Regions from separate parts of the Homo sapiens genome. Here all the other regions are linked to region 1. Evidence: promoter capture Hi-C in human tissues and cell types (Jung and others, 2019). All regions are on one chromosome and are shown on one strand. The core of a region is centred on a gene start or on the middle of the fragment in contact, and the rest is flanking DNA. Distances in the headings are between cores, read along the strand shown.

Region 1 (6,761 bases), core at 3,194-5,693:
CAAAAATACAAAAAAAATTAGCCGGGCATGGTGGCAGACGCCTGTAGCCCCAGCTACTCGGGAGGCTGAGGCAATAGAATGGCGTGAAACCAGGAGTCGGAGCATGCAGTGAGCTGAGATCGCGTCACTGCACTCTAGCCTGGGTGATAGAGTGAGACTCTGTCTCAAAAAGAAAAACAACAACAACAAAAAAACTATGTAACAAATGCAAAGATAACATATGAAGGAGACAGAAATGTGTATAAATTTGTATAAAAGGCAGACTGGTACCAATGCTAATTGGGATTATATAGGAATAAACCATTAACTTCTAAAATTGAAGCATAATTGCATTGCATTTAGTTGAATGCAGTGTTTATAGAGTTCAATGAATTTTGAGAAATAAACTTGCCAATCAAGATATAGAAACTATCTACAAAGTCCCCTTGTGCCCCTTTCTAGTCAATACCCTTCCAAGCTCAAAGGAAACAACTACTTTGATTTCTATTGCCACAGATTAGTTTTGACCTTCATATTGATGGAATTGTACAGTACCTAACTCTTTTGTGTCTGCCTTCTTTTACTCAACATGTTTTTAAGATTCACCCAGGCTGTAGTGTATATCAACAGTGTGTATTACTCTGAGTAGTATATCACAATTTATATTTTTCTGTTGATGAATATTTGTGTTGTTTTTGACTTTTTGGTATTTTTAATAAATTAGCCGTTAATTCTAATTGAGCAAAATATTTCCCCCTAATAGGACATGAAATTTGAAATATCTTAAGAAATTTCTTATTCATAAACAAAGTTGAACCAAGTGTAACTTAATGCTTATTTAAAGGCCTCTTCATGGCAGTAGCAATAAATCAAATACAGGTTTTAAAAATAGCTACTCTTTTTTGCACCTTTACATTCCAGTCTGATAAATATAACTCACTTATATAACTACATAAATTGTCGTTAAGCTCTGTATTCCACAATTTCTCTTAGCCCAGGAAAGCAAGAAGTGATGATAGCATTATGGGTGTGTGTCATTTATTTTCAAGAACAGACTTTAGTGAAGGAAGGCATGCTTAAACCTTGCTTTGTAGCAAAACACTTCTTATCTTTGGGTGGATATAACTTTCTGATGCCAAAGGACTCTGTTTCCCTGCCGATCTAGATTAGAAAAGGCAGAAACTCTAACCTTTATTTATCAGTCTGTTTGACTAACAGTGTGAGCAGTGAGAAAAGAAAACTATAGTAATAAAGCTTTTTTTTTTTTTTAGAATGTTATTTCACAACCTCACTGGAATGTGGGAAGTGAAGTGCTGCAAAAGCTAGAAGCAAAGATAGAAAGTACAGGCAAGGTTCACATAATAAATCTTCCTTTTAGGTTTGAAGGTTCTTTCCATAGAAATTCCTTCACAAAGATACAATTTTATTTTAAAATATCCTGTACCTGGCTTTTATTTAAGGTCAGTTAAGTAACCAGTATATGAAAGTCTTTGTATGTTTCCACAAAACTGTTGTTAAAACTGTATTCTGGGTCAAATTATTCTTTTTTTTTTTTTTTTTTTTTGAGACAGGGTGTAGTTCTGTCGCCCAGGCTGGAGTGCAGTGGCAACTACATGGGATTACAGATGAGGTCTCACTACCTTGCCCAGGCTGGTCTCGAACTCCTTGGCTCAAGGGGTCCTCCTGCTCGGCCTCCCAGAGTGCTTGGATTACAGGCATGAGCCACCCCACCTCGCCCAGATTATTTTTAAACTGGAGTCTTCAGGTCCCCAGGGTCAAGAGATATACACTTGCCCGTTTGGGAATTCTATAAAAATGTTTTAGTTTAGTTTTGTGTTTCATTTCAGTAATTGCTTAAAAACAATATTTTCCGACTTATTAAATTAAAACTTCTTTGGCAGTGATAATTCATAACCATAAAGATATTTTCCTGAAGTAGGATTTTAATTTCTTTTTTTTTTTTTTTTTTTTGAGACGGAGTCTTGCTCTGTCGCCCAGGCTGGAGTGCAGTGGCACAACCTTGGCTCACTGCAAGCTCCGCCTCCCGGGTCCATGCCATTCTCCTGCCTCAGCCTCCCGAGTAGCTGTCTACAGGGGCCCGCCGCCACCACGCCCGGCTAATTTTTTGTATTTTTAGTAGAGACGGGTTTCACCGCGTTAGCCAGGATGGTCTTGATCTCCTGACCTCGTGACCCGCCCGTCTCGACCTCCCAAAGTGCTGGGATTACAGGCGTGAGCCACAGCGCCCGGCGGATTTTAATTTCTTAAAAGCTTTTTTATTGTCGTAAAATACATGTAACATAAAATATGCCATTTTAACCACTTTAAGTGTATACTTCAGTGGCATTAAGTACATTTACAGTGTTCTTTAGACTTTGATTTCTTACATCAGTATTTCTTACAGTGAAATTTTCAAAAGTATTTGCCAAGTTTCAAAAGAACTTTTTTCCTTTAAAAACGGTTTGTATACCACTCAAGACTATGAATCACTATTCAAGGCAATAAATTCTTCTTACAATATAGAATTTTTCTCTTGATAAATTGAGTATTCTTTCTTTAGATAATGGGAATAATACACACCCTTATGGTTTTTCCCCTTTTTAAAACCTGGAAATGAAGAAAAAAATTCGGTGTTTGTGTGACCATTTTCCCTGTTACTCATATAATTATTTGCCCATCTATTTCTTATCTTTCTATAATTACAGATTTCTCTTTTTTACATGGTTTGTGTTGTACCTTGCTTCAAATTCTTTTTTTTTTTTTTTTTTTTTGAGGTGGAGTCTTGCTCTGTCGCTCAGGCTGGAGTGCAGTGGCGCGACCTCGACTCACTGCAACCTTCGCCTCCCCGGTTCAAGGGGTTCTCCTGCATCAGCCTCCCAAGGATTCCCGGCTAATTTTCGTTATTTTTACTAGAGACGGGGTTTCACCATGTTGCCCAGGCTGGTCTGGAACTGCAGAGCTCAGGTGATGCACCCACCTCGGTTTCCCAAAGTGTTGGGATTACAGGCATGAGCCACCGCGCCCGGCCAAATTCTTTTTAGGAATTAGGTACTACATTGAGTTTTAAATGCACTCAGAAAATTCTCAAAGTAATAAATTATAGACTAAATAAATATAGCGGAATTCAGTCTAAATTATAGGAACTCCTTTTTTGATAACTAATATTTTTAAAGTACTCACTATGTGCTACGGCACTGTGCTAATCACTTTACTGTGATTTATCTAGTAATACCGTATGATGTAGGTACTATTATCACCCCACTCTAAGGAGTTCAAAGAAATAAAGAAACCTCCACAGTGTCATGAAGTAGCCCCGCTAGGACTCAGGCCTGGCTGAATCCAAAGCTCAGGCTTCTAAGCATAACGTGTACTGCTGCTTCTCAGGCTGCACATTCTATTTTACATTATTGGTAGTTTCTCTCTGGCGTTCTTTGTGGGAATGTTCACTGCCCCCGCCCCGCCCCGAAGTGGAACCCTGTCTTCTAACAAACTTTTCGCTGCTCCACCGTCTCCTGTCATGTTCCGCCTCTCAATGGAGTCCCAGCCCACACTCCGATTCTGGTCCCTGAACAGAGCCCCTTCCCCTCACACCATGGCCCCCTAGCAGAGCCTGGTCTCCTCAGATCCTCTTCTCCCAGCAGGGCCCCAACTCCTCACTCCGACGATTCCCCCAGAGTTCCGTTCCCTCAGATCCTGCTTTTCCAGCAAAGCTGCGATTCCTGTACCCCAGCAGAGAGCAATACCCCGTCGGCAAACTTCCACAGAGACATCTTACCGAGGTCCCAGCCCAGCCCCTAATTAAGGGCACACCTCTACCTTTCCCCTTCCCAACCTTCTCCCACAACTGTGCTTTCCCCCGCCCTATTCCCTTTTTCTGTTTATTAATTCTCCTCAACCTCTCCACCATCTCGTGGCCCAGTTTCAGGATTCCCCCGCAAACTCACCCACCGCACTGTCTCCTCAAAGTTGCGTTCCCAAACGGCGCAGTGCTCTGCCCGCACTTACGCTCCCAGCGCTGCTTCGGGATCTGCGCTCCCCAACTGCCCTCCGGGAATACGCCCTGCAGTTGAACAGCGCCCGAGGCCCCGCCCCCTCTGCGTCCATTGGCCATTGTTCTCGAGAAGTCCCGCCCCTCCCGCTTCCAGCCCGCCTCCCCGCCCCGCTTCCCTTGTTTTCATTCCCCCTGTCACACGAGGCAGTGGCAAGCCCGAAGGGGAGGAGAGAAGGGGGCGGAAAGAGGGCGGAAAGTGAAAGGCGCCGAGGGCCGCTCTGTCTCCCGTCTGACTCGGTTCTCGACTGCTCCGGGCCGCCGATGTATTGTGGGATCGCGGAGCCGTCCCTGAGACGCTGGGATCCGCAGAGGAGCCCACTTGAGAGCGCCTCCTGTCGTCTGTAAGGTTGCCTTGCCATCCCTCGGCACCACAACTTCCCCCGCCCCCCCATCGCCTCCTCCTCCATCCTCCAGTTCAAAATGGCGACGGCGGCGGCAGCGGCGGCGGTGATGGCTCCTCCGGGCTGCCCGGGTTCGTGCCCCAACTTCGCCGTAGTCTGCTCCTTCTTGGAGCGCTACGGGCCGCTGCTAGACCTGCCTGAGTTGCCGTTCCCTGAGCTGGAGCGGGTGCTGCAGGCGCCGCCGCCGGACGTCGGCAACGGAGAAGGTAAGCGAGGGGCCCGAACGCCCGGCGGGAAGCGGCCCTGGCGCTCTGCTACTCTCCGCTCTTCACAGGCGCCCCGGTTCTTCGCGGCTCGGGCCTCCGCGGCTCTGTCTTCCCCCTGGGACGCAACTCCGCCGGGCTGGTCTTCTCCGCCCAGCCCCCGGGGTCTTGGGCAGTGGGGAGGCGGGGCGGAGGCCCCCTAGGGCCACTCGGCCGGGCGGGGAGCTGAGGTGGAGGCGTTGCGGGCTAGGTGTGGGCTGGAGGCGGGGAGGGGTCATTGTGCCGGTCGGCAGCCCCGGGGACTGCTTCTCCGCGGCGGAGGGCGGCCCCCCACCCCGTCTCCCCCTTGGCGGCGGGGGAAGGGGAGCGCAGGTTCCGGCCAGCTTTGCGCTTTTCTCCTCCTCCCCACCCTTACTCCCTCCCCTCCTCCCACCAGTCTTCCCGACCATCTCGGGGAAGGCTGGGCTCGGCTGCTCCGGACACCTCCTTATCTCCCTTCACCTGGGTGGGCGGGGGCCAGCGGACACTCAACTCTCCCTCCCTCTGTTGGGAACTCCCCTGAGAGATTTGTCCCTTTTCCCTTCCCCTCGAGGGCTGCTTTAACCCCTAAAACTCCTTCCTTGAAGTGGGGAGGTCTGCTCCTCCCCCACGGGAGGGGGTTCTTCTCCATTCTCGGTAGGGGGGCGAAGTCGGTTCAGCTCCACTGTGGAGAGGAGAGGGTTAATTCCTCCTCCATAGTTCTCCTTCCTCTCCCCACCTCCCCCAAAATAATAGGCGAGCATCTCCCCACTTTTCCAATCCCTTCCCCCTTCATCTTGGCAGCCGGGCTTAGGCGAAGAAGTCGTCTCCCTCCCATTTGCACGGTAGGGTGGGGTGGTTAGTATGTAAGCTGGAGGAGGGGCTCTGACGGAGGGGGAAACAGTTGAAGAAGGTGCTTGTTGCTCATGTTTCTCTCTCTGGTGCCGCTGGTCTATTATTGGTGTTCGCAAGTGGTGCTCCTTCCACATAAGGCCACCGCGCGGGTGCAGGGCGCATGCTCTGCCCGGCCCCATTGAAACTTCCTGCTGCTGCTGCTGGTTCTTTTGCTGGAGCATCTCAGCGCTGCGCCTGCTGCCTCCAGCCTTCACACTGAGTGCTTATACTCACCCCCATTTATTCCCGATCCCTGCCTCTCCTTTTCTGGCACTTTTCTTTCCTCAGAGAAGGCTTTTTTGTTATACTCTGAGCATTGCCTTTATCTGGAAACAGCCCTTGGCTGGAGAAGAAACGTTTTCCAAATAGGTCTCTTTTTTTGTCCATATTAGCTGGCCAAAGTGGATTGGTTATTGTACAAGACAGATAGCTGTTTCCTTTCCAAGAAAGCAGGGTCGCTCTTCTATTCTCTATGTAAATGAAGAAGTTTCTGTTAACTGAATTTATTTGCATTGCTAGGAAGCGCCAAGTATGAAGTTCTTCAGAATATTACCTATAAAGAATCTGTATGATGTTATGGCTACCGAAGACTCAAATTAATACAGCAGTTATAATATAAGCCTAGTAATCTGTTCTTACCTGTCCACATTCCCTCTACCTGTAACAAACTGGCTTACAAAAGGCTAATTTAAAAAATAGTACAAAATAGGAGGGTGACTAATTACATTATATAAAGGCTTCTCACAGAATTTGTTTAAAAATTAAGCTCCCATTGTAGTAATTTCATTATCAAATTGTATTTACATTCTTTTTTATATTTTTTATTTTTATTTGTTTTTTGAGACGGAGTCTCACTCTGTTGCCCAGGCAGGAATGCAGTGGCAGGATCTGGGCTCACTGCTACCTCCGCCTCCCAGGTTCAAGCGATTCTCCTGCCCCAGCCTCCCGAGTAGCTGGGATTACAGGTGTGCACCACCGAGCCCGGCTAATTTTTGTATTTTTAGTAGAGACGGGGTTTCACCATGTTTGCCAGGCTGATCTCGAACTCCTGACCTCGTGATCCACACACCTTGGCCTCCCAAAGTGCTTTACAGGCGTGAGCCACCAAGCCTGGCCCGTTTTTTAATTTTTAAGAAGGTAGTCATTGTGAAGTAGGATGCCTTAGTAAGTTGCTTTTAGGATGCCTTGGGAAGTGATAGTAATGTATCTCTCAGA
Region 2 (6,761 bases), core at 2,820-5,319, 100 kb after region 1:
TGGTTAGAGGACCATATTTTGAGTAATAAGGTCATCTCCTAACTTCTGAAACAAATACACCAAAGGCCGTTATACACCTGTTTCTGAAAACATTTCTCAATGAATGCTGATGTTATACCTCTCAACACAACTAAGAGAAAATGGTCTGTGAGGGATGGCATCCTTGAAAAAGTAGAAGAGGAGGAGCAGGACATTTCATTCTCTTTGTTTTTCTGTCTTCTATTTTTATTTTAGAGACAGTCTCACTCTGTCACCCGGGCTGGAGTGCAGTAGTGCAATCATAGTATGCTGCAATCTGGAACTCCTGGGCTCAAGTGATCCTCCTGCCTCAGCCTCCTGAGTGGCTGGGACTACAGGTGTGCGCCACCATGCCTGGCTAATGTTTTTTAATTTTTAATTTTGTAAAGACATGGTCTCACTTTGTTGCCCAGGCTGGTCTCGAACTCCTGACTTCAAGCAATCCTCTTGCCTCAGCCCTCCGAAGTTCTGGGATTACAGATGTGAGCAACTGCGCACAGCCTACCTTCTCTTTTGCTTTTCTGCTTCTCTTTCTCTAACAACAAAATGTTTCTTATTCATTCATTCATTCATTCAGTGAATACTTACTGTGCACCTTCTCTGTGCTAAGCATGATTTTAGGCATATAGTTTAATAAAGAAGGACTAAAATCCTTGCTTTTGTAAAGCTTACACTATAGTAGATAAAACAGTAACACATAAACCATTTACCATGTGCCAATACTGTTCTAAATGCTTTTGCCTATATTGTCAGATCATTTTCACAACAAACCCTGTTTAGTAGTGTAATATTATTACTTCCCTTTTTTCAGATGAGGGAAATTAGATAAAGAGTGATTTCGGTAATTTTCCCAAGGTCACATAGCTTGTTAATGGCAGACCTAATATTCAAAACTAGGCAATCTGTCTCCAGAGTCCCTGTGCCCTTTTAATGCTGCACTTACATATAATTTCAGCCCCCAAAAACCCTGTCTCTCACCCTTGTCCTCTCAGATGTAGTTCTTGTAGTCTATTCCATGGCAAGACCAAATAAATATGATTCTGTTCTGTCATTTTTATTCCTTTCGGATGTAAACAAACATTACCCTTGGGCTGTGTTGGGGGATCAGGGCCAGGTGGGAAGGAGTATGTCAAAAGCTGGAAACAGTCCTGGGGAATGTCTAACATAGAGTGTTGAAGCAAAATGTGACAAAAGTTAAAAATTAAGCATGGTTAGATATTTGCAAATTGGGCAGCAAGAAATAAAAATAAATAGGCACTGGAGAGGGAATAACAACCACTCTTATTCTTGTAGCTAAAATAGATTTTTCTTTAGTCATTAGTTAAATTGCCATGCCTTGTATCTTAACTCAGTAAGATAAGTTTTTATTTTTGTATAGGTGTTAAGGAGAAACGTATTAACTGTAAAAGTGGGCAAAAAAATGGAAAATGGCAATAAGTGGCCTAGAAAATGGTGACACCAACTAAATAATTAAGTTGACTTTGTTTCAAAGACAATTCGAATTGCCTTCTGAAAGTCTAAATTTGCTAGACTAACATTCAGAATCTCAGTCTGGTCTCTCTTTCTAGCAATAGCTCCTGCTTTTTCTTACATGAGTACTGGTTCCAGATCATCTAGATGCTTTTGTTTTCTCCATATGTCTTGGGCATTCCCTTCTGTGTCTGCATGCTGTTTCTCTCCCTCAGATGTTGTCTCCCCAACTCCCATGAAAGTCTGATTATACTTCAAGGAACATCTGAAACTTTATTTATACTATTTGTATCCCACTTATATTAGGGCTAGTCGTGGCATCAGGCTTGAAACGCTCAAATACTTTTTGAGTTGTTATTCTCAGACTGTGGTAGATTTCCAAGTAAGTGTTTGGTGTCATTTATACCCTTTTATGGGAGTTTAAGATCCATTGTCTTAATTTAGGTGATAATACTACCTGGAAGGTATCGTGCATATAAAACACCATGGAATTTAATATATATTTTCTCTCTACATTGGATACTGTATTCTAATTTAGAAGGGACCAAAAAGTTAAAAAGAAACTTTTCTGGGGAAAAAGCTGAGGGAAGCCCAACTAACATTTAGTTTTTAATTCTACTAATTGAAAGAAGACTGTCCTTTTTTAAATTTTTACAGTCATGCACTTCTGCCTACAGGTGATCAGATAAGATATCACTTGAGAATTTCATATAAAGAACAGAATTTACAGACTGGCAGCTCACAGACCTAATTTGGCCCAAAAACGTGTTTATTTTGGTTTCTACAGTGCTGCTTTGTTTTTAAAAAGCTAAGATAAAATTCACCATTTTAGTGATTTTAGTATATTCACAGCATTGTGCAACCATAACCACTAATTCTAGAACATTTCTAGCACCCCACAAAGAAACTCTGTACCCACTTAGAAGTTACTTGCCATTTCTCCCTACCCTCATCCCCTGTAAACCATTAATCTACTTTGTCTTTATGGATTTGTCTCTTTGTAGCATTTCATAAAAATAGAATCATACAGCATGTGGCCATCTGTGTCTGACATTTTCATCTAGCGTAATTTTTTTAACATTACACTAACATAATGTTAAAAACATATGCTAAATATTACAACATCCATGTTGTAGCATGTATCAGTACTTCATTCCTTTTTACACATGAATAATATTTATTTGTATTGATATACCACATTTTATTTATCTGTTCACTTGATGGACATTTGGATTTTTCCACCTTTTGGTATAGATAATGCAGCGGTGAATGTTAATATACAAATTTTTGAGGGAACATATGTTTTCATATGACTGATTTTTTAAATGAAGTTGCTGTCGACATCTAAAATTGAAAATTAGAAAAGTTGTCAACTTTGGATCATCATTTTTATATGTCAAAAATACTCTGTAGCTGAGTAATGGTTGTTTCTATTTACGTGAGATTTACACTCCATTTTGCCATACTCCTTTCTTTTGTCCTCTAAAATCGGGCTTAGTCTCAGGTGCTTGGACTTATATTTTTTTCTTACAGTGTAGTTAACATGAAAATAAGATATTTATTGTATTCATGTCTTTATCAATTTTGGAATAACAAAGACCAAGAATTATTTCAGAAAAAGGAGAGAGTTGCTAATTGTTGAAGTGAAGTATGTCAGTATAGTTGGTTTTTGTATTTATTTATTTTTAGAGTCAAGGTCTTGCTCTTACTCCCCAGGCTGGAATCTAGTGCCACAATCACAACTCACTGTAACCTCCATTTCCTGGGCTCAAGGGATCCTCCTGCCTCGCTGGGACTACAGGCACATGCTACCATGCCTGGCTACTTTTTTAATTTTTTGTAGAGACAGGGTCTCACTATGTTGCCCCATCTGGTCTCAAACTCCTGGCCTCAGGCAATCCTCCCCCCCATCTCCCAACATGTTAAGATTATAGGCGTGAGCCACTGCACCCAGCCCAGTATAGTTATAGTAGGTAGATTAACTTACTGATGATTTTCCTTTGATCATTATTAATGTGATGTCAGATATAAAGCTTAAGTTCTATGTGGCAAAATAATATAACTTAACGTAGTCTATTAGTCTGTTCAGGCTATTCATAACAAAATACCACAGACTGGATGGCTTAAAACAACAGAAACTTATTTTCTCAGTTCTGGAGTTAAAAGTAGCAAATTTGATTTCTGATGAGGGCTCTTTTCCTGGCTTGCAAATGACTCTCTTCTCTGTGTGTGTGGAGAAAAAGCTATCTGTTTTCTGTTCCTCTGATCTTATAAGAGCACCATTCCTGTAATGTTAAAGTCCCCCACTCTTGTGAGAATTCTTTAACCATAATTACCTCACCAAAGGCTCTGTCTCTAAATACAGTCGCATTGGGGATTAGGGCTTCAATATATGAATTTGTGGGGGACACAATTCAGTCTGTAACATGTAATACTATGAAACTATCCATTGTAAAAACTATGATGGTTAACGTAAAAGGTACCTGAGGAAGAAATTGGGAGGGGGAGGACTGATATTTTAAGGAGATTCATTTTTGAATGCTGAGATGTGCAGCTATATATTCTTAAGAGAAAACTATTACGTGTATCAAAACTGTTTTTTTTTCTTTTTTTTCTGAGACGGAGTTTTACTCTTATTGCCCAGGCTGGAGCACAATGGCGCGATCTAGGCTCACCGCAACCTCCACCTCTTGGGTTCAACCGATTCTCCTGCCTCAGCCTCCCGAGTAGTTGAGATTACAGGCGTGTGCCACCAGGCCCAGCTAATTTTGTATTTTTAGTAGAGACGGGGTTTCTCCATGTTGGTCAGACTGGTCTTGCACTCCCGACCTCAGGTGATCTGCCCACGTTGGCCTCCCAAAGTGCTGGGATTACAGGTGTGAGCCACCATGCCCGGCCAAAACTTTCTTTTCATTTTGAGTTTGAGTGCAGCAAAAAAGTGTATCAAACTAGAATGAGCATTTGCATATGTAAGGACAATTGGAAATACTCTTGCTCGTAGTGAATAGATTACTGGTAATAAGTGAGACAAGATGTTAAATTATTTTTTATATTTTCTATTGTACCTGATGAAAGCACAGATATTTATGATGTTACTCATAATGATTTCTTTGTAACTTTGATGAGAATTTTAATATGACTGGAGATAAAAGAACTTACTTCCCTGTATCGTTATCTAGGGACTTTTTTGTATTAAAAAAATTAAAAGTGGAACATGGCATTGTCATGGTAAACTTGTGAATTGGATAAGCTCCCATACATGAGTCAATGTGTTCATTAATAAATGAGCTACACAACACAGTATTTTTCCATACATTGCAGTTTTATATCTTTAGTCCCTGTCGGGATCCTTCTTAGGTTTCAGTATTCAGATTCGCAAAACTACTACAGACAACACTTGGCATCAGTATACGGAGATCGATCTAGGACAGGGATCATAGCTTGCCAACAGGAGCAACATCTAGCCTTAGGAATAGTCTTTGCAACAGTTCTTATGGCCATCCAGAAGCTGTTTTCTCCCAGGTGACAACTGGAGAAACAAGCAGATGGGATTTATGTTGAGAGGGTCCAGGAACCACTCAAAAGCCTCATGTTCCATGGAAGCCAATATCTCTTCTATCAACTCTGTGGACCAAAGTTCCAGGATTCTCACTGTATTCAGGAGGCCCCAAGGGTGACACCCTTATCCTGTATTTATATTATTTTTTTATTCTAGATTGCAAGGTGTTTTTTTTTTTTTTTGGTTTTTGGTTTTTGTTTTTTTTTTGCCCATGCTGGGGTACAGTGGTGCGATCTTGGCTCACTGCAACCCCCACCTCCTGGGCTCAAGTGATCCTTCCGCCTCAGACCCCCAAGTAGCTGGGCCTACAGGCACAAGCCACCATGCCTAGCTCATTTTTGCCTTTTCTGTAGAGATAGGGTTTCACTGTGTTGCCCAGGCTGGTCTTGAACTCCTGAGCTCAAGTGATCCACCCGTCTCGGCCTCCCAAAGTGCAAGGATTATAGGCATGAGCCAGCATGCCTGGCTGGGTTTAAATTTTTTAATTGACAAAGAAAAGTTGTATATATTTATGGTGAAATGTCTAAAACTAATTCCATATTGTGGAATGTCTAAAACTAATTACCATATGCATTGACTCACAGACTTATCTTTTTTGTGATGAGAGCACTTAAAGTCTCCTGTCCTAGCAATTTTCAGGTATACAGTACGTTGTTGTAACTGTAGTCACCATGTTGTACAGTAGTAGATCTCTTGAACTTACTCTTCGTAACTGAAAGTTTTTATCTTTTGACCAGCATCTCCCCACACCTTCAGTCCCTCATAACCACTATTCTACTCTGCTTCTGTGAGTTCAACTCTAAGATTCCACATGTAAGTGAGATCATGGGGTATTTGTTTCTGTTCCTGACTTATTTCACTTAGCATAGTATCTTCCAGGTTTATCCATGTTGTCACAAATGACAGGATTTCTTTCGTTGTTAATGTTGAATAATATTCCATCATGTATATAGATCATATTTTCTTTATCCTTCTATCTGTTAATGGACACTTAGGTTGATTCCATATCTTGCCTATTGTGATTAATGCTGGAGGGAACATGGGAGTGCAGATATCTTGTTAACAAACTGGTTTCATTTTCTTTGGATATACCCCGTAGTGGGATTACTGAATCCTATAGTACTTAATATTTTTAATTTTTTGAGGAACGTCCATACTGTTTCCTATATGGCTGTACTACTTCACATTCTCAACAACAGTGTACAGGGATTCTCTTTCTTTTTTTTTTTCCTCATTTTTGCCTACACCTGTTGTCTTGTCTTTGATAATAACCACCCTAACAGGCGTTAGGTGATAACTCATTGTGGTTTTAGTTTACATTTTCCTGATGAGTAGTAAGATTGAACATTTTTTGATACTTGTGGGCAATTTCTAGAAACTTATGGATGGGGATCAAAAAGTTTATGTACTGAATGTATAATAATGCACTAGCCAAGCATGGTGTTGCACGCCTTTGGTCCCAGCTACTGGGGAGGCTGATGCAGGCTTGAGCCCAGCATGTTGAGGCTGCAGTGAGCCGTGCTCACACCACCATACTCCAGCCTGTGCGACAGAGTGAAACCCTGTCTCAAAAAAGGAAAAAAAACTACTATTTTTATTATATAAGACATTGTTTTGGCAGGGTGTGGTGGCTCACGCCTGTAATCCCAACACTTTGGGAGGCTGAGGCGGGAGGATCACTTGAAGTCAGGAGTTTAAGACCAGCTTGGCCAAC
Region 3 (6,761 bases), core at 2,143-4,642, 85 kb after region 1:
TGTGTACTGATTAATCTCATGGGAGATTGTTTCATAAGCATGTATCATTACATTATTTTCCTTGTAATTAATTTGCTAAACGGAGGTGAACAAAGTAGTCCTAAACTAAAATTTATTTACCATTTCTCCTTTAAATACAAAGACAAATATGATCTATTCATGACATTATACCACTGTTTCTGTTATTTCCCATATTAACTTGGCGTAGTTGTTTAAAACATTCTTTTCTTCTTTGTAGATGAAGAAAATATGACAGTGAAATAACGATTACTATTGATCAGTCATAGTTGTTTAAAATAATGTCTAATGGGCTGGGTGCGGTGGTTCACACCTGTAATCTCAGCACTTTGGGAAGCCGAGGCGGGAGGATCACGAGGTCAGGAGTTTGAGACCAGCCTGGCTAGCATGGTGAAACCCCATCTCTACTAAAAATACAAAACATTAGCCGGGCATGGTGGTGCATGCCTGTACTCCCAGCTACTCGGGAGGCTGAGGCAGGAGAATTGCTTGAACCCGGGAGGCAGAGGTGTAATTTATGAGAGGAGTTCAAGATAAAAAGAACTGGAAGGCTGGGCACGGTGGGTCACGCCTGTAATCCCAGCACTTTGGGGGCTGAGGTGGGCAGATTATGCGGTCAGGAGATCAAGACCATCCTGGCCAACATGGTGAAACCCCATCTCTACTAAAATAAAAAAAAAAAATTAGCTGGGTTTGGTGGCACACACCTGTAATCCCAGCTACTCGGGAGGCTGTGGCTGGAGAATCGCTTGAACCAGCAGGTGGAGGTTGCAGTGAGCCAAGATCACGCCACTGTTCTCCAGCCTGGGCAACACAGCGAGGCTCCGTCTCCAAAAAAAAGAAAAAAAAATGTCTAATGTATACTGTTTTAAATAGATTATACCTTAATGCATGATGTGAAATTTTAGAGTTAACAGTTATGTTTGAATCTGGGTTCATCCACTTACCATCTGTAGACACATTACTTTTGTCCCTTGGTATCCATGGGGCACTGGTTCCAGACCCTCATGGATAACAAAATGTGTAAATGCTTAAGCCCTTTACATAATATTTGTGTATAACCTATGCACGTCCTCCCATATACTTATAATACTTAATGCATTGTAAATGCTAGGTATAGAATTGTTATACTGTAGTTTTAATTTGTATTTTTATTGTATTAACTTTAGTTCATTTTTTTCTAAATATTTTGATCTGTGGATATGGGGGGGCTAATGTACTTAATTTTTCTGAGAGTTACATTCCTGTACTTTAAAATGAAAGTGATAATACTTCCTCAAAAAGTTGTTGTGAGGAATATATGAGAAATGGTACTGACACTGTAATACATGCTCAATAAACCTTTTCTCTTTTTATTTCCACCTTTTTAACTATTCGCTTTTCTTTTGTTTTTTGTTTTTAGAGACGGAGTCTCACTCTGTCGCCCAGGCGGGAGTGCAGTGGCGCGATCTTGGCTCACTGCAAGCTCCGCCTTCCGGGTTCACGCCATTCTTCTGCCTCAGCCTCCCAAGTAGCTGGGACTACAGGCACCCGCCACCATACCTGGCTAATTTTTTGTAGTTTTAGTAGAGATGGGGTTTCTCTGTGATAGCCAAGATGGTCTTGATCTCCTGACCTCGTGATCTGCCCGCCTCAGCCTCCCAAAGTGCTGGGATTACAGGCGTGAGCCACCGTGCCTGGCCAGCTATTCGCTTTTCTTACAACCTTTCTAACTCCAAAGACTGAAATTTAGTTTATTCACTAAAGAAATATTTATCAGCAGAAAGGTCAGAAAATTCCCCTGGTGTTGCTTTCTGCTTTCACCTCTTCTCATGCTTGACCATTTCTCCATGTTTTGTTCCTTGGGCTTCTGCTCTTTTTAAACACACACACACACACACACACACACACACACACACACACACACACCCCCCAAAACACATAAAACTTCTTTCCATTTGTTAAAATTTGTTTTTGATAAACAAAATGGTGTATGTGGCAATTGTTCAGAAGGAAATGCTTGTGTAGATTAATGCCTGCACGCAGTTTTCCGTTTTTTTGTTGTTGTTGTTGTTGTTTTTTGGTTTTTTTTTTTTGAGACAGGATCTCGCTTTGTTGCCCAGGCTGCAGTGTGGAGTGCAGTGGTGCGATCTCAGCTCCCTGCAAATTCTGCCTCCCGGGTTCAAGCCGTTCTTCTGCCTCAGCCTCCTGAGTAGCTGGGATTACAGGTGTGAACCACCACACCTGGATAATTTTTGTACTTTTAGTAGAGACAGAGTTTTGCCATGTTGACCATGCTGGTATCGAACTCCCGAGCACAAGCTATTCACTTGCTGTGGCCTCCCAAAGTGCTGGGATTACAGGTGTGAACCACCATACCCATCGCATAGTTTTCTCATTTTCACAACCACAAATTTCTTTAGAAAATGGTGCCAGGTTATTTTTAGCCATTTTGATGACATCTGTGAATACATATGTTTCTATTTACAATGAGCCAGGGAACATTGCCCAAATAACGCAGAAATATTTGGGAGCATTCAGAAATCATTTGGTTTATTGACTCTCTGATTTTGTGTAATGAAATTCAATTTTTAAACAGCTGATTGTCATACTAACATTCCTTTATTTCATTAAATTTATAAATTCTATTACATACATCCTTGTGTAATAGGTACTATGCTAAACAATTGGTGATGTAATAGTGAATAGTATGGCTCTAAGATCTCTAAGAGGGGCTGCAGGCACCTGTGAAAGGCCTCAACTTGTAAAGAATAGATTTTAGGTGAATATTATATGCGTATTTTCTGGGGACGGATGGTAATTTATGTCAAATTTTCAGTTGGGTGTGTTTATGCATATTATAAGTGAGATGTTCTATGACATGACATTCCAATTAGCTTTAACCCAACACAGTGGAACTCTTACTGACAAATATAGTAAACTGTCTTGTCCACATAGGTCTCTCATTGTTGCAAAGGTTGAATGTAGAAAACATTGTAATAATTTTTGCCTCCTCATAAAGATAAGATCTTAGTTGTCACTAATATATATTTAGTGCCTAAAATAATGTGGGGCATCATCTCATTTGACTTGGATGAGATCATACCTGGAGCATGGTATTTCTGTTTGAATGGCAGACTCTGAAAGAAACATTAATATAGTAAAGTCCATTATGGGAACAACCACAAAGAAGATGATTGAATACTGAAAATGCTTTATCTAGCAGAAATTTACTCAGACATAAATGTCTTCAAACATTTAAAGGATTGATTTGTAGAAGAATATCTCAAAGGCTGAGCCAGGATCACTGGATTCAAATTATGGGGAAGCAGAACTGAATTTGACAGGAGCAAGAACGTTTGTTTTTCCTTTTACATTGCAGGGGAGTGATTGTCTTAAGACTGATAGATGTTGTCACACATTTTTCAATTAAACGTGCAAGTTTATGTGAAGTGGAGTTTTGTAAGAGGCAGTAATCTTTTTAGCAAGAGATTTCTTTAGAAAATCAAGTGATGGCCGGGTGCGGCGGCTCACACCTGTAATCCCAGCACTTTGGGAGGCCAAGGCGGGCGGATCATGAGGTCAAGATATCGAGACCATCCTGGCCAACATGGTGAAACTCCGTCTCTACTAAAAATACAAAAATTAGCTGGCATTGTGGCGTGTGCCTGTAGTCCCAGCTACTCGGAAGGCTGAGGCAGGGGAATCACTTGAACCCAGTAGGCAGAGGTTGCAGTGAGCCAAGATTGCGCCACTGCACTCCAGCCTGGCGACAACAGAGCGGCCTCCATCTCAAAAAAGAAGAAAAAAGAAAATTAAGTGATAAGGGAAGAACAAGTAAAGCAAATGAGATTTTGACTTTGACTTTTTCATTTAATAGGTTGCATTTAGGTGCTTTTCTTAGCTAGTAAGTATTATTTTTTACTAGTAAATTAAAAGCTTCTTGTTTTTTCTTAAAACAATTTCTTTAAAGTAACAGTATTATTTTCTTGGTGATCGGCTGGTGTTGGAAACGTGTTTCTACCTAATTCTTAAAAGAGGATTATATAACAAAAGTTATCTAGTCTTTAGGGTTCCGTTTTCTAAAGCTAATAAGTCAGCCTTCTTAATGATTGATAAATTTAGAAATATAACTGAACTTTGCAAATTAAACATCAAATGGAATTTTTAAAAAATGAGAATCCACCAAAAAGGGATAATTTTACATAGTTGATCTACTGAAAATTTCATACCATGACATCACCACAGTCTTAAAACTTGTACTGTTACGTAGCAACTTCCATTTCTGCAAGTTGCAAAATTAATAATATAAATATAGAGACGTTCTTTGCCGAGAGTCGTCGGGGTTTCCTGCTTCAACAGTGCTTGGACGGAACCCGGTGCTCGTCCCCCACCCCAGCCGGCCGCCCATAGCCAGCCCTCCCTCACCTCTTCACGGCACCCTCAGACCGCCCCAAGGCCCCTGCCGCCGCCCCAGCGCCACGCAGCCACTGCCACCGCCGCCACCTCTCCTTAGTCGCCGCCATGAGGACCACGTCCACCTCACAGGTGCGCCAGAACTACCACCAGGACTCAGAGGCCGCCATCAACCGCCAGATCAACCTAGAGCTCTGTGCCTCCTACGTTTACCTGTCCATGTCTTACTGCTTTGACCGTGATGATGTGGCTTTGAAGAACTTTGCCAAATACTTTCTTCACCAATCTCATGAGGAGAGGGAGCATGCTGAGAAACTGATGAAGCTGCAGAACCAACGAGGTGGCCGAATCTTCCTTCAGGATATCAAAAAACCAGACTGTGATGACTGGGAGAGCGGGCTGAATGTGATGGAGTGTGCATTACATTTGGAAAAAAATGTGAATCAGTCACTACTGGAACTGCACAAATTGGCCACTGACAAAAATGACCCCCATTTGTGTGACTTCATTGAGACACATTACCTGAATGAGCAGGTGAAAGCCATCAAAGAATTGGATGACCATGTGACCAACTTGCACAAGATGGGAGCACTCGAATCTGGCTTGGCAGAATATCTCTTTGACAAGCACACCCTGGGAGACAGTGATAATGAAAGCTAAGCCTCGGCTAATTTCCCCGTAGCCGTGGGGTGACTTCCCTGGTCACCAAGGCAGTGCATGCATGTTGGGGTTTCCTTTACCTTTTCTATAAGTTGTACCAAAACATCCACCTAAGTTCTTTGATTTGTGCCATTCCTTCAGATGAAGAAATTTGGTACCCCCCCCCAAAAAAAGTAATAATAATAATATAAATATATGTATTAGATGAATAGATAGGAAGCAATTAACTTATATATAATTATACTTTAAGTTGAAACAAGATTTAGTATGTGATTTACAAAACAATAGAAGTAGTTAAGTTTCATTAAACCATATGAAATTGTTAACATTTGAACATTTTGACCTATAAAAATGGTGATTTCATATGGCTCAATCAAGTATTATAACAGGTTTCAATAGCAAAAATGTTTAAGCTCCAGCCAGTGTCCTACTTATTCCAGTTAATGTTTAAAACAGAATTGCCACAAAAGCATTATTTCATCTTTAGGCCTCAATGAAAGAAGATAAAAGTACAGAAAAAAAAATTTTACATCTAATCAAATATGATGTAATAAGTGATTTTATTCACTCCATGGGGTATGTCAATAGAATTTGTTTAGGAATGAAAAAGATGGGCTCAGCATGATGGCTCACACCTATAACCTCAGCACTTTGGGAGGCCCAGGTGAGCAGTTTGCTTGAACCCAGCAGTTGGAGACCTGCCTAGGCAACTTGATGAAACCCTGTCTCTACAACAAATACAAAAATCAGCAAGGTGTGGTGGCACTTGCCTGTAGTCTCAGTGACTTGAGAGGCTGAGGTGGGAGGATTGCTTGAGCACAGGAGCTTGAGGCTGCAGTGAACTGTGATTGTACCACTGCACTCTAGCCTGGGCAACAGAGTGAGACCCTGTGTCTCAAAAAAAAAAAAAAAAAAAATCAAAGATGTAAACATAACAAGGTGGTAGTGTTTGGTTATTAATGATTAGAGAATTTTAGCAAATAAAGACCATAGACCAGATTCCATCACAAGCTTCTTCAGGATCTTAGTGGGACTACAGAAAGTACTTTTGTACCAAGTATACTAAGGAAGATAAAGTTATATGCAGACTATTAAGCAGTTACTTCATAAAGAATATATATATATATAGCCAGTATTCATATGAAAAAGTGCTTAGCATCATTATTCATTGTAGAATTTCCAATTAAAACCACAATGAGGTATTACCTTACTTCCATTAGAATTAGTAAAACGAAAATGGCTTACAGCACCAAATGTTAACAAGGATATGAACCAACTGAAACACCTTCTTGTATATGTAAAATGATACAACCACTTTGGGAAAGTTTTGCAGTTTCTTCAAATGTTAACAAACTATTATCCCATAACCTATAAATTTCATTTCTGGGTATTTATATTAGAGAAATGAAAACATGTTTACAAAAAGCCTTGTATAAGAATGTTCATAGCATCTTTATTCTTAACATTACTCATACAATGAATTATTACTAAGCAATAAAAAGGGATGACCTATGAAACTATATGGATTTGTCTCAAAATTCCTTGTATGTGAAAGAAGCACATACTGTTTGATTCCATTTGTGATAAGTTCTAGAATTAATAAAATTAAAAATCTATTGTATTAGTCCGTTTTCATGCTGCTGATAAAGACATACCCAAGACTGGGCAATTTGCAAAAGAAAGAGGTT
Region 4 (6,761 bases), core at 2,442-4,941, 85 kb before region 1:
ACACCAATTTGTTGTAAGCATGGAATAAAGTACTTTCAACTGAACTGATAAGGTCAACTCAGGTCACATATCCAGACAGACAATGTGCACTAATTGGCTTAGTTCAATCAGATACTACTTGGAATTGGGCTTGGGGACATGTTCCCTTGAACAAAATCAGAGTTCAATTAGTAATAAAGAAGTGGAGAATGGCTAACTGGACAGGCAACCAACAGTGTCTACCATAATACCTTTTAAAAAATAATGTTTTTTTCTGATACAAAAAAATACTTGTTCATTGTCTTAAAAACTCGGAAAATAAAGCATAGTTGGGAGAAGGTACTAAAGAGCACCCTATTACCATTATCCAGAAAACCACCTCAATGTATTTTTCTCCTCTATATAGTTTTTACATAGTTGAGATCATACACCTTATTAACCATTCCATATTTTAATGGCTACAAAATATTTACTTGGGCCGGGGGCGGTGGCTCACGCCTGTAATCCCAGCACTATGAGAGGCCGAGGCAGGCAGATCACGAGGTCAGGAGCTTGAGACCAGCCTGGCCAACATGGTGAAACCCTGTCTCTACTAAAAATACAAAAATTAGCTGGGTGTGCTGGTGTGCGTCTGCAATCCCAGCTAGTCAGGAGGCTAAGGCAGGAGAATCGCTTGAACCCAGGAGACAGAGGTTGCAGTGAGTCGAGATCACGCCACTGTACTCCAGTCTGGGCAACAGAGCGAGACTCCACCTCAAAAAAAAAAAAAAAAGATGGATGCAGCAAACCATCATGACGCGTGTATACCTATGTAACAAACCTGCACGTTCTGCACATGTACCCCAGAACTTAAAGTATAATAAAAAAAAATTTACTTGATTGGATGCATCATAATTTACTCAATATTTTTTTCACCATTGAATAAGTAGCTACTGAGTTTTTACTATAATAGTCCACATAACAATGAATATTATGACCCATAAAGCATTTCATTTCTGTTGAATATTTCTCTTAGTATACTTTTCAGTGTAAAGCTATGAATCAAACATTTTACCATATATGTGCCTTTATAACAGTACGGTTTTGCTTTCCAAAAGGGTTACATCAGCTTAAACTACTATCACAGTGTGAGTGAACCAATTTTATTATAACCACTCCAGCATTCAGTGTCGTCATTTAAAAATGTATGACTGTTTACTAGGTATAAAATGATAAAATGCTTTTGACATGATCTTTATGTTGGTGGCATTATCCTTATCCTGTGTTTGCCTTGGGGGTTTTATTTACTATAGGGATCTGCAAAGACTTGGAGAACTTCAATCTGAATTGGCAGGAGTAGCTGATTTCTCTGCCACCTATCTTCGCTGTCAACTACTTCTCATCAAGGTTGGTTTGCATCCATTCCATTTATGATTGTGTTGCTAAAAATGCATCTTTGTGGATCCAGCAGTGTGTGAGGCCATAAGTTATAAAACTTATGGTCTTAATGCAACCACTTGACAATGGAGAAATATGTACTCTGCAGTGTGATTACATTTGTCTCTAATTAACGAAATATTAACTCATAGGAATTTGTAAATTTGGGGAGAATTCTTTTATCATAATATAATTAGAGCAGATTGGATAATCATTTTAGTTAGAATCCCAAGGTTGTAAATGTTTTGTATAATTTGATTAGCAAAGGAATTGTATGAAGTTTTAGACTATCTTCTTAAAATGCTCATTTGAAGGCCAGGTGCGGTGGCTCACACCTGTAATCTTAGCACTTTGGCAGGCCAAGGCAGGAGGATCGCTTGAGCTCAAGAGTTTGAGACCAGCCTGGGCAACATAGCGACACCTCATCTCTACAAGAAAATTTAAAGTAGGCAGGTGTGGTGGTGCATTCCTGTATATCCAGCTACTCGGCTGGAGTTGGGAGGACTGCTTGAGCCTAGGAGGTCAAGGCTGCAGTGAGATTGCACTCCAGCCTGGATGACAGACCAAGATCCTGTCTTTAAAGAAAACAAACAAACAAACAAACAAAAAAACTCACTGCACTTCATCAAAGTTAAAAGGTTGATTTCATTGCTTTTAAAAAGACCAGCTTGCTGGCGTTTCTTACTCAGTAGTCAGCTATACACAGAATTGGTACCCAAGAATCTATTTAGTTTTGCTGAGTTAAAAAACAATTAAATGAGTTCAGTATCTTTCAGCTTCTGTAGCAGAATTTTACTATAAATTTTGGCACAGAATTTAGGAGAGCCCTTCTCACTTGACGAACTTTTATCTTGGCCCTAGTTCAAAGTGTTCTTTGTTTTCAAAGTGATTAATGATGTTTGGCTAAAGTCAGAGTAAATCAGGGAGTCAAAAGTTATTTTCTACTGTGTGAACTTGTGCTAAATGTTATATTTACAGTTGTGCAGGTGTGCCTATACATGTAAAGGTGCGTATGTATACTTGGCACTTAAATGGTCCTTGTTAGGCTAGATATGTTCTTTCTAATGTATATATCTGTGTAATCACCACCATAGGCAAGTCGTAGAACATTTTCATCACTCCAAGAAGTTCCTTCCTGCCCCTTTGCAAGGTTGTTTGGCTTTTCCAAGCCTCTGTGAAACCCCAGGAATTCAAGGAGGCCATGGAGAAGAATCCACTTTTCTATAGTAGCAAAATATGGGTGAGGAAAGAGAAGTGATTACTCCTAAAAAGAACACATAATTGTTGGTTATTCAATGACAAGGGGTGACAGTGTAGGTGAGGGGCCCAGAGCCAGAACCCAAGGCAAGTGTGTTTAATAACAGGAAAAAAGCTAAATAAATTTTGGTACAGCTACCTAGCAGTATATTCTGTAGTCAGTAATTCTTTATGAAGAATTATACAACAACATGACAAAATATTTAGGGTGTAATGTTATGTACCCAAAAGAAGGGGAGCCAATCATAATCCCAAAAGATAGTCCAGAACATCATAGTCCTAAACTGTTTAAATTCCAAAAGACTAAAATCCCTAAGGTCTAAAATCCCAAAAACCACAGCCCAGAAAATATCAAAATCCCCAAAATATAATTATGGAAGAAATAATTTAAAAAATTTAAAGATATTTATTTTTTAAAGGGGAATTTATTTGAGAAACATAAAAACACAACAGAATACTTTATACATCACTTAATATAATAAAACAGACAATAACAACATACATTTTTGCAAGCATAAACACTCAGGTTACTAATGACAGTTGGGTGGGTCTAACAGTTATGAGCAGATGAGCCATATTTATAAAGAAATTGGTCATAAAGGGAAAGGTATAAATGCATATCACTTTGGTTGTTAATTGTGTATACCCAGCTTTTTAACTGTGGTCATCTGAAATACTGTGCCCAACAACCTCAAGTCTTTTGACGAGATTGATGGAAACTGTGCTGGGTCACCACTGCATATGCAGTCACCCAAAGAGCTGAGATCTCAAGAAATTTTATCTTTCACAAATGCAGATGTACGAAAAGGATATCTCATTTATCGAGGAAGTTTCAACATTTTGTGTACACACTCAATGCTTATACACAAAGTCAGTATTGTGATGATGCACTTTCATGGAGTCAGATTTCTGATATCCAAGCAGCAGAACCCAGAGAGTCCGTTTTGCTATATTGCCTTTTTTTTTTTTTTGAGACAGAGTCTCAGCTTATCATCCAGGCTGAATACAGTGGCGTGATCTCGGCTCACTGCTGCAACCTCTGCCTCTTGGGTTCAAGCAATTCTCCTGTCTCAGTCTCCCAAGTAGCTGGGATTACAGGTGTGCACCACCACGCCTGGCTAATTTTTGTATTTTTAGTAGAGACAGGGTTTTGCCATGTTGGTCAGGCTGGTCTCCATCTCCTGACCTCAGGTCATCCACCCACCTCGGCCTTCCAAAGTGCTAGGATTACAGGCATGAGCCACCACTCCCAGCCCATTTCGTCTTAAGTATTTGTTCTCTCCTGGCCACTGGCTGATTGGATGGTGCCCGCCAACATTGAGGGCAGATAGTCTCCACTTAGTACACTCAGATTTATACACTAATCTCTTCTGGAAACACTCTCATAGACACACCCTCAATGTGTAAAACAAAATAATCTTTTACCAGGTTTCTGATATTCCTTAATCTAGTCAAGCTGATATCTAAAATTAGGTCCACAAGTCCACCCCTTGTCAGCTTGGCACTCATACGCATCTCCTTAAGCCATATTTAATTTCCAAATAAAGACAATAACATGGTAATAGTTGTGCCTAACATGATACAACTAACATGATGCAACTATCCTGCATACAACCCAAAACACGCTAATCACTTCCCCAGAATTTGGATGTGAGGATTTCAACATTTGGGATTGTATGTTTTGGGATTATGATCTAATCCCCAAACTTAATTCTGCTTTCTGACTACAACTGTCAAAAAACATGCATACAAGAAATGATTAGAAGTAAATATTCCAGAAATTCCTATAGTTTTTATCTACAGTTTAGACCTACCACTGTTTAATTTGATAGCCACCAGATACATGGGACTCTTGAGCACTCAAAAAGTTGTTAGTCCAAACTGAGATGTGTTATTAAGTGCAAAATACACACTGGATTTCTCAGACTTAGTATGAAGAGAAAATGTAAACTAATTAATAATTTAAAAAATACTGCATGGTGAAATGTTAATATCTTGGATATACTGGGTTAAATAAACTTTTTTAAAAAATTAACTTAGTCTTTGTATCTTAAAATTAACTTACATCTTTGTAATTTAAAAACCGTGGCTACGAGAATATTTAAAATTATATATAGCTCATGTTATATTTCTATTGGACAGTGTTAGTCTAGGTTTTCTGTAATGTCATTTGATTACATCTGTAATTCAGAAGGACTGAGAAAATAAGAGGCTGTCACAGAAGTTTGTGCAAGGGATGAGGTCATGTGGATGGATAGGTGAGGAGAGAGATGGAAGGTAAAATCATGGCTCTTAGTGGTGGTTTTGAATGTAGAAAGATTGAAAGAGGGAGAAATCTAGGAAAGCTGCTTGATTTCTAGTTGAATATGTTGATAAAGTGGTTGGGGCTTACAACATAATGAGCATAGGGGAAAAGAAAAAAGAACCACAGTTAAGGAAGAAGTATCTAGGTGGCTTGGGTTAGTCCAGTAGCTCTGGGAACAAGGAGTGCCTAGAGCCCGGAAGCTGGCTTGCCTGCGCATTCTGGTGAAGCTTTCGTGGTTCCTGTCCTCTGCTTCCAGAAGCACTGATCTGGGACACAGAGCCTTTGGGCCAAGAATTGGATCAAATGGGTGGGAATTCATTTAGCCCAAACCATTGGTCTCATCTTTCTCCATAATAGATACAGCTTATTGGGTTAAAAGAATAAGATCAATTGAGAAGTCATGTTCATGGGAGACTTTCAAAGGAAAACAAAAATGTAAATCCCAAATGATAGGCCAGTCTTTGTGACCTCGGTATTCTGTTCCCTCCTGATTTGTCTGCGTAGGCCTTGCAGGAAAAGTTGTGGAATGTAGCTGCCCCTTTGTATTTGAAGCAGAGTGATTTGGCCTCAGCAGCAGCGAAACAGGTAAGCTTATTCAGACCTTCCCTTCAAATAGGTCTCTGTCCAGTAATTGTCTGGTCCAAGACAGAGCCAGAGGCCTTCCTATAGCTCTGTCTGTGTAGGCCTTGCAGGAAAAGTTGTGGCATGTAGCTGCCCCTTTGTATTTGAAGCAGAGTGATTTGGCCTCAGCAGCAGCAACACAGGTAAGCTTATTCAGACCTTCCCTTCAAATAGGTCTCTGTCCAGGAATTGTCTGGTCCAAGGCGGAGCCAGAGGCCTTCCTGTAGCTCTATACCTCTGCTGTGGCCTCCCTAATTTCAGGCTATGACAGAAGTTAGTGATATGAGAAGGAGCATAACTAGGAGACACAGCACTCACTTTGGACTCAGGGGACCTGGGTCCTAGTCCCAGGTCTTCCTCTGATTTGCTGAGTGATATTGAGCAAGTTACTTAAATTCCCTGGATTTTTTCTCTTCTATAAAATGTGGCAGTTGGGCCGGGCGCGGTGGCTCACACCTGTAATCCCAGCACTTTGGGAGGCTGAGATGGGCACATCACTTAAGGTTAGGAGTTTGAGACCGGCCTGGCCAACATGGTGAAACGCTGTCTCTACTATCATGAATCTTTCATCTGAAAATGTAGCCCAACTCAGTTAAGGTTGTTTATATCTTTAGCCTGTACCATCTCTTCAACGTTAAAAGGTCCTGGGTAGTTCATTAAGTAGGCTTTAATTTTATTTGTCTCTAGTTTATTTCTTTTTAGCTTTGAGTCATTCCCCTTTGCACCTGAGTATTGAGACTTGGTGATCTCTTGCAGGTCAAGTCTTCCAGATAGGGAGTCTGTAAATGACCCAGGAGGAAGCTAATGATGGTGACTGTTATTGTTACATTACAGTTCACTAAATGATTTCAAGTCTATTAGCTTAATTAACCCTCATAATAATCCCATTAGATAGGAATAAGTATTAAGTCTGTTTTAGAGATGAGGCAGTTAAGGCTCAGCAAGGTTAAATTCATAGAGCTATAGGTAATACAGTCAGGACTTGAGACCAGATCCTCTGATACCCAGAATCTGTTTTCTACTACAGTGCTGAACTCTTGTCTGATCCAGACTCTTTCTCAGACCTGGTATGTGGCTTATTGTAGAAGAGTAGAATTTAATGACTAGAACCCGATAATTGAGCCACATTGGAAGGATGGGACCAGGGAGCAATAATTTGGAAGGAAAAGAGGAAAGGAATTAC

The links. The method cuts DNA at HindIII sites, captures the fragments that hold promoters and counts their contacts. A contact is called where the count stands out against the background at its distance.
Region 2: a contact is called between a fragment that was not itself captured here and the fragment with the promoter of RSF1 in region 1, in 2 of the 25 tissues and cell types used here (adrenal gland and lymphoblastoid cells).
Region 3: a fragment that was not itself captured here is called in contact with the fragment with the promoter of RSF1 in region 1 in 2 of the 25 tissues and cell types used here (lymphoblastoid cells and mesenchymal stem cells).
Region 4: a fragment that was not itself captured here is called in contact with the fragment with the promoter of RSF1 in region 1 in 3 of the 25 tissues and cell types used here (mesenchymal stem cells, pancreas and thymus).

The regions. Positions count from the first base shown.
Region 1 is chr11:77,818,404-77,825,164 of GRCh38, reverse strand. It overlaps RSF1 (remodeling and spacing factor 1), which reads left to right and starts at 4,443. Exons shown (of 16, transcript NM_016578.4): 1 at 4,443-4,637. The coding sequence starts at 4,451. AAMDC (adipogenesis associated Mth938 domain containing) reads right to left here and starts at 4,021. Exons shown (of 4, transcript NM_024684.4): 1 at 3,924-4,021. RefSeq lists silencers at 3,984-4,143, 4,734-4,823, 4,964-5,053 and enhancers at 4,244-4,383, 4,394-4,563, 4,116-5,088, 5,684-5,793, 5,089-6,062. The HindIII fragment of the contact is 12,017 bases long and covers 1,743-6,761 here.
Region 2 is chr11:77,715,650-77,722,410 of GRCh38, reverse strand. The region is part of intron 5 of RSF1 (remodeling and spacing factor 1); the gene reads left to right. Among named protein-coding and RNA genes, the nearest start is that of RSF1-IT1, 21 kb to the left of the region's middle. The HindIII fragment of the contact is 3,932 bases long and covers 2,104-6,035 here.
Region 3 is chr11:77,732,787-77,739,547 of GRCh38, reverse strand. All of the region lies in intron 4 of RSF1 (remodeling and spacing factor 1), which reads left to right. RSF1-IT1 (RSF1 intronic transcript 1) reads left to right here. Exons shown (of 2, transcript NR_046822.1): 1 at 1-360; 2 at 618-1,379. It also overlaps the pseudogene FTH1P16. Among named protein-coding and RNA genes, the nearest start is that of RSF1-IT1, 3.5 kb to the left of the region's middle. The HindIII fragment of the contact is 7,107 bases long and covers 1-6,761 here.
Region 4 is chr11:77,902,321-77,909,081 of GRCh38, reverse strand. It overlaps INTS4 (integrator complex subunit 4), which reads left to right. Exons shown (of 23, transcript NM_033547.4): 16 at 1,272-1,365; 17 at 5,462-5,542. It also overlaps a transcript of AAMDC not described here. Among named protein-coding and RNA genes, the nearest start is that of AAMDC, 85 kb to the right of the region's middle. The HindIII fragment of the contact is 8,265 bases long and covers 1-6,761 here.